Regions from separate parts of the Homo sapiens genome. Here region 1 is linked to region 2. The links are contacts of gene promoters, found by promoter capture Hi-C in human tissues and cell types (Jung and others, 2019). All regions are on one chromosome and are shown on one strand. Each heading gives the region's core, a stretch centred on a gene start or on the middle of the fragment in contact. The rest is flanking DNA. Distances are from core to core; before and after follow the strand shown. Region 1 has its middle 33 kb from the start of WT1. Region 2 holds the start of WT1 (WT1 transcription factor).

What was found. Contacts are between HindIII fragments. The study calls those that stand out against the background at their distance.
Region 1: a fragment that was not itself captured here is called in contact with the fragment with the promoter of WT1 in region 2 in 1 of the 25 tissues and cell types used here (spleen).

The regions. Positions count from the first base shown.
Region 1 is chr11:32,466,401-32,469,777 of GRCh38, reverse strand. No RefSeq gene overlaps it. Among named protein-coding and RNA genes, the nearest start is that of WT1, 33 kb to the right of the region's middle. The HindIII fragment of the contact is 7,158 bases long and covers 1-3,377 here.
Region 2 is chr11:32,434,031-32,437,375 of GRCh38, reverse strand. It overlaps WT1 (WT1 transcription factor), which reads left to right and starts at 1,837. Exons shown (of 10, transcript NM_024426.6): 1 at 1,837-2,676. The coding sequence starts at 2,016. WT1-AS (WT1 antisense RNA) reads right to left here and starts at 1,858. Exons shown (of 5, transcript NR_120548.1): 1 at 1,530-1,858. RefSeq lists enhancers at 1-100, 1,764-1,796, 2,904-3,345, promoters at 402-738, 1,642-1,744, 1,386-2,036, 838-2,036 and cis regulatory regions at 1,197-1,216, 1,309-1,435, 1,420-1,457. The HindIII fragment of the contact is 5,194 bases long and covers 897-3,345 here.

The sequences.
Region 1 (3,377 bases), core at 30-2,529, 33 kb before region 2:
GGTGCATGCCTGAAGTCCCACCTACTCCTTGGGAGGCTGATGTGAAAGGATCCCTTGAGCCTAGGAGTTCGAGGCTACAGTGAACTGTTTGTGCCACTGCACTCCAGCCTGAGCAACAGAGACCCTGCTTCTTAAAAAAAAAAATGCATTAAATGTTGTCTTATGTTATGTGAATTTTACCTCAGAAAAATAAAAAACAAAAATTAAGCAATACATTCCAGCATTATGAAATGAATATCAAAGAGCTTATGAATTTTAAAGCTATCATTCTTTCTATTTTTCTGCATATACCAAATTTTCTACATATGGATGAATTGCTTTTTAAAAGCACTCTTTAATTTTGAAACAATTATAGATTCGCAGGAAGTTGCAAAGATAGTACAGAGAAGTCCTGTGTACCTTCAGTTCCCACCACCCCCCACCCCCCCGACTCCCCGCCCTTACAATCTTGCATAACTATAGTAGAATGAAAACCAGGAAGTCACCATTGATACAATGTATATGTATAGTTCTATGCCACTCACAGGTGCAGATTGTGTAATCACCACTGCAGTAAAGACATAAAACTATTCCATCACCACGAAGAGCTTCCTCAGTCTATTCCATTAGAATAACCCATTGCTGGCTGGACATGGTGGCTCTCACCTGTAATCCCAGCACTTTGGGAGGCCGAGGCGGGTGGATCACCTGAGGTCAGGGGTTCGAGACCAGCCTGACCAACATGGTGAAACCCGTCTCTACTAAAAATACAAAAATTAGCAGGATGTGGTGGCGGGCACCTGTAATCCCAACTACTTGGGAGGCTGAAGCAGGAGAATCGCTTGAGTCCAGGAGGCAGAGCTTGCAGTGAGCCGAGAGCATGCCATTGCACTCTAGCCTGGGCAACAGAGTGAGTCTCAAAATAATAATAATAACCCATTGTCCTCCTCCCCACCAATCCTAACTGGGTAGATGCCCATCTGTTCTACATCTCTGTGATTTTGTCATTTCAAGATGGTTCTGTAAATGAAATCATATAGAATGTGACCTTTTGAGATGGGCTTTTTTCACTGGCATAATACCCCTGAAGTCCATGCAGCTTGTTGTGCATGTCAATAGGGTTGGCCTTTTTTTATTGCTGAATAGTATTCTATGGTATGGATGTACCATGGTTTGCCTAATTATTTACCTCTTGAAGGATATTTCAGTTGTTGCTAGATTTGGGCTTTTACAAATAAAGCTACTATGGACATTCATGTGCAGGTTTTTTGGTAGATGTAAGTGTTATTTTTCTGGGATAAATGCCCAAGAGTACAGTTGCTGGGTCATGTGGTAATCATATGTTTAGTTTTTTAAGAAATTGCTAGGCCAGTCACAGTGGCTCACGCCTATAGTCCCAGCACTTTGGAAGGACAAGGTGGCAAGCTAGCTTGAACCCAGAAGTTCAAGACCAGCCTGGGCAACACAGTGAGACCTTCTCTCTAAAAAAAAAATAAGATAAAATAAGCTGGGCTTGGTGGCATGTGGCTGTGGTCCCAGCTATTCAGGAGGCTGAGATGGGAGGATCACTTGAGCTTGGGAGGTTGAGGCTGCAGTGAGCCGTGGTTGTGCCACTGCATTCCAGCCTGGGCAACAGACAAAGACCCCATCTCAAAAAAATTAAGTTTAATTTTAAGAAAGGAAGACTGCCAAATCAGTTTCCAGGGTGGCTGTGCCATATTATACTCCACGAGCAATGCATGAGTGACTCAGTTTCTCTGCATCCTTGCCATCACTACTTCTATTATTTTATTTTATTTTTATTTTTTCTAGGGATGGGGTCTCCCTATGTTACCGGGACTGGTCTTGAACTCCTGAGCTCAAGCAATCCTCCCACGTCAGCTTCCCAAAAGCCATCACTATTTTAAAATTTAGCTGGTGTAAAGGGTGATAGCTCCTCATGGTCTTAATTTACATTTCCCTAACGATAGTGATGTGGATGTTGAATAGCTTATCATGTGCTCTTCAGCGAATCCTTTTCATATCTTTTGTCTGTTTTCTAATTAGATTGTTTTCACTGCTGAATTTTGAGTTACTTATATATTGTAGATTATATATATATATATCTACTGTAAAGTCCTCTGTCAGAATGTGTGGTTTGCAAATATTTTCTCTGAGCCTGTAGTTTGTCTCTTCATCCTCTTAACAAGGTCTTTCCCAGAGCAAAAGTTTTTTATTTTTATTTATTTGGTTAGTTTTTGAGACAGGCTAGAGTGCAAACTAGACAGGGTAGAGGCTGTCGCCCAGGCTAGAGTGCAGGGGTGCAAGCTTGGCTCACTGCAACCTATGCCTCCCAGGTTCAAGCGATTCTCCTGTCTCAGCCTCCTGAGTAGCTGGGATTACAGGCATGCACCACCATGCCCGGCTACTTTTTTGTATTTTTAGTAGAGACGGGGTTTCACTATGTTGGCCAGGCTGGTCTTGAACTCCTGATCTCAGGTGATCCACCCGCCTTGGCATTCCTAAGTGGTAGGATTACAGGCGTGAGCCACCGCGCCCGGCTGTTTTTTAATTTTTATAACGTTGAATCTACTGATTTTTTCTTTTATAGATTGTACTTCTTGGTGTTGTGTTTTTCTTGCTGAAGCCCTAAATCCTGAAGATTTTCTCCTAAAACATGTTATAGTTAGGAATTACTTTTTGAAAAGCCTTTTTTAAAAATATGTAAAAGAAATACATGCTCATTGTAGACAATTTGGAATATTTAAAAAGCTCAAAGAGAAAATTTAAATCACTAATAATACAAACGTCCAGAAATATGTTTTGGTATTAGATGCTGGGACTTGCAACTTTAATAAAAATGTGACCTATTAGGTTGGCACAAAAGTAATCGCGGTTTCTGCCATTACTTTTGTGCCAACCTAAATATTTTATAATGGGAAAACAGCAGCCTTCAACAGTAAACCGCACTAGTGAGTACCAACTGGGAGTGCCGAAGGAGAGGCCTCTCTCCTAATGCTGAGATCAGCTGAGGGAGTTGCCATTCAGAAAAGACCAAGAACTACTGACCCAAACGTTAAAACTCATGTTTATGAACCGCAGCTGTTAGTCACAGGCTGTAATTACCCCCACCAGATAAGGAAGCTATTTAAGAGAGCAGGTTGCTACAGCTGAAGAGAAACAGAAAATAGAGTCTTTTTGGAAATCAGAGGATTGTAACTAAGGGAAATGTCAGGTTTGAAGGTGGAATGGATCTTTGTGTATTTGCTGGCTTGGAGACAGACAGGATGATCTAGCAAGAGGATGGCCAAGCCTTGGCTCCTGTACTGTTTTGTTGGAGAGTAATCTGTTGAGGTTCCCTTTTTCAAGCCCTGGTATGTATGGGCTTCTGACAGTAAGCATCCTCCCAGCCTACCCAC
Region 2 (3,345 bases), core at 588-3,087:
AAAGGTTTAGGGATAGATCGTGTGGGAGAGGACTGAGCAGAGAGCGTGGGGGCAGTGTCTTGTAGAATCTTTCTTTTCTTAATAATAATTTTAAAAGCTTCTGAGTGGAGACGACGCAAAGTCAAGCAGCAAAGGTGGCCTGGGAGGCAAGCGGAGGGCTCAAGTGCCGCATCTTTACCCTCAGGGTCTCCTGCGCCTACGGGATGCGCATTCCCAAGAAGTGCGCCCTTCGAGTAAGTCCTGGGCCCGCACACACTTCGGGTCCGCAGCCAGAATTTAATGGCGACAACGTTTATGCAATGCAAGCTAAAAACCAAAGCGTAAAAAATTACTATGTCATTTATTGAAACGCCATTCTTTGTCAAACTGCAACTACTTTGCTTCACATAAGTTTGGCTGGAAAGCTTGCAGCCCCAGCCCGGGCCAGCCAGGTACAGGAGGCCGGACTGCAACCGGTTGCTTCCCTCCCGTCGCGCCTGGCCGTCCCACGCTGCGCCGTCGCTGCTGCCTCCTGGCGCCCCTGGGATTTTATACGCACCTCTGAAACACGCTCCGCTCCGGCCCCCGGTTCTTCTCCTTGCCTAGGGGTTGTTTCCCAATAGATACTGACTCCTTTAGAAGATCCAAAAACCAAACCAAAACACCCCCTACCCGCCCCAAACACCTGCTCTGGGGCGCGGGGGCTGCCAAACAGAGACTAGACGAAGGGAGTCAGATTTAGCGAAGCTCTTCGAGCTCCCAAAGATTCGAACACTAACTCGCGCCCGTGGGCCGATGGAGGTTCTCCCTACTCCACTCCTTGGTCCCCTTAACTGGCTTCCGCCTCCTGGTCAATCACTGAGCAACCAGAATGGTATCCTCGACCAGGGCCACAGGCAGTGCTCGGCGGAGTGGCTCCAGGAGTTACCCGCTCCCTGCCGGGCTTCGTATCCAAACCCTCCCCTTCACCCCTCCTCCCCAAACTGGGCGCCAGGATGCTCCGGCCGGAATATACGCAGGCTTTGGGCGTTTGCCCAAGGGTTTTCTTCCCTCCTAAACTAGCCGCTGTTTTCCCGGCTTAACCGTAGAAGAATTAGATATTCCTCACTGGAAAGGGAAACTAAGTGCTGCTGACTCCAATTTTAGGTAGGCGGCAACCGCCTTCCGCCTGGCGCAAACCTCACCAAGTAAACAACTACTAGCCGATCGAAATACGCCCGGCTTATAACTGGTGCAACTCCCGGCCACCCAACTGAGGGACGTTCGCTTTCAGTCCCGACCTCTGGAACCCACAAAGGGCCACCTCTTTCCCCAGTGACCCCAAGATCATGGCCACTCCCCTACCCGACAGTTCTAGAAGCAAGAGCCAGACTCAAGGGTGCAAAGCAAGGGTATACGCTTCTTTGAAGCTTGACTGAGTTCTTTCTGCGCTTTCCTGAAGTTCCCGCCCTCTTGGAGCCTACCTGCCCCTCCCTCCAAACCACTCTTTTAGATTAACAACCCCATCTCTACTCCCACCGCATTCGACCCTGCCCGGACTCACTGCTTACCTGAACGGACTCTCCAGTGAGACGAGGCTCCCACACTGGCGAAGGCCAAGAAGGGGAGGTGGGGGGAGGGTTGTGCCACACCGGCCAGCTGAGAGCGCGTGTTGGGTTGAAGAGGAGGGTGTCTCCGAGAGGGACGCTCCCTCGGACCCGCCCTCACCCCAGCTGCGAGGGCGCCCCCAAGGAGCAGCGCGCGCTGCCTGGCCGGGCTTGGGCTGCTGAGTGAATGGAGCGGCCGAGCCTCCTGGCTCCTCCTCTTCCCCGCGCCGCCGGCCCCTCTTATTTGAGCTTTGGGAAGCTGAGGGCAGCCAGGCAGCTGGGGTAAGGAGTTCAAGGCAGCGCCCACACCCGGGGGCTCTCCGCAACCCGACCGCCTGTCCGCTCCCCCACTTCCCGCCCTCCCTCCCACCTACTCATTCACCCACCCACCCACCCAGAGCCGGGACGGCAGCCCAGGCGCCCGGGCCCCGCCGTCTCCTCGCCGCGATCCTGGACTTCCTCTTGCTGCAGGACCCGGCTTCCACGTGTGTCCCGGAGCCGGCGTCTCAGCACACGCTCCGCTCCGGGCCTGGGTGCCTACAGCAGCCAGAGCAGCAGGGAGTCCGGGACCCGGGCGGCATCTGGGCCAAGTTAGGCGCCGCCGAGGCCAGCGCTGAACGTCTCCAGGGCCGGAGGAGCCGCGGGGCGTCCGGGTCTGAGCCGCAGCAAATGGGCTCCGACGTGCGGGACCTGAACGCGCTGCTGCCCGCCGTCCCCTCCCTGGGTGGCGGCGGCGGCTGTGCCCTGCCTGTGAGCGGCGCGGCGCAGTGGGCGCCGGTGCTGGACTTTGCGCCCCCGGGCGCTTCGGCTTACGGGTCGTTGGGCGGCCCCGCGCCGCCACCGGCTCCGCCGCCACCCCCGCCGCCGCCGCCTCACTCCTTCATCAAACAGGAGCCGAGCTGGGGCGGCGCGGAGCCGCACGAGGAGCAGTGCCTGAGCGCCTTCACTGTCCACTTTTCCGGCCAGTTCACTGGCACAGCCGGAGCCTGTCGCTACGGGCCCTTCGGTCCTCCTCCGCCCAGCCAGGCGTCATCCGGCCAGGCCAGGATGTTTCCTAACGCGCCCTACCTGCCCAGCTGCCTCGAGAGCCAGCCCGCTATTCGCAATCAGGGTAAGTAGGCCGGGGAGCGCCCCCTACGCGCGGGGCAGTGGCGCCAGGGACTCTCCGCTCTAGGACACCCCCCTCTCCTACCCCTTTTGACCGCAGCTCTTACCCAGCTGCTTCCCAAGGGCCGTGAGGATAGCGGAAGCGGCGGCTGGGGAGGAGGCCGGAGAGTGGGAGTGCACGCAGGCACTGGCCCCCGACATCCTCCAAAGCCAGGCAGAGCTAGGAGCCTGACTGTTCGCAAGAGCCGGGAGGGCGTCTGGGGCCCCTTAGAGTCCGAGAGATTCCGGGACTGCTAGTCCCCACGGGAGTGGAACCAGGAGACCGGCGCAGTGTCTGGCTCTGCCTTGGGGAGAGTTTTGTTAATTAAGGAAACGCCAAATTGTCACCAAGCGTAGCGCTTTTCAGACGTCTGGACTCTGGATTCGGAGTGGGACCAGCGCGGGGGTGAGCGCCTGTGCTGTGCTGCCTCCGCAGCGCTAAAATGTCCAGGAGCACCTCCAGCCCTTATAATACGGTGTTGGCACACACTTAGGTGCACATTAAGTATCGTAGAGAACTAGAATGAGCACATGCACCTCCAGTAACTAAATGGCTTTCTGGAACAGCGTCGTGTCCGTGGATAGCTCCCGCGTATGGTAATACAGAAGTGGATCTTCACTGGGCTTCGCTCAG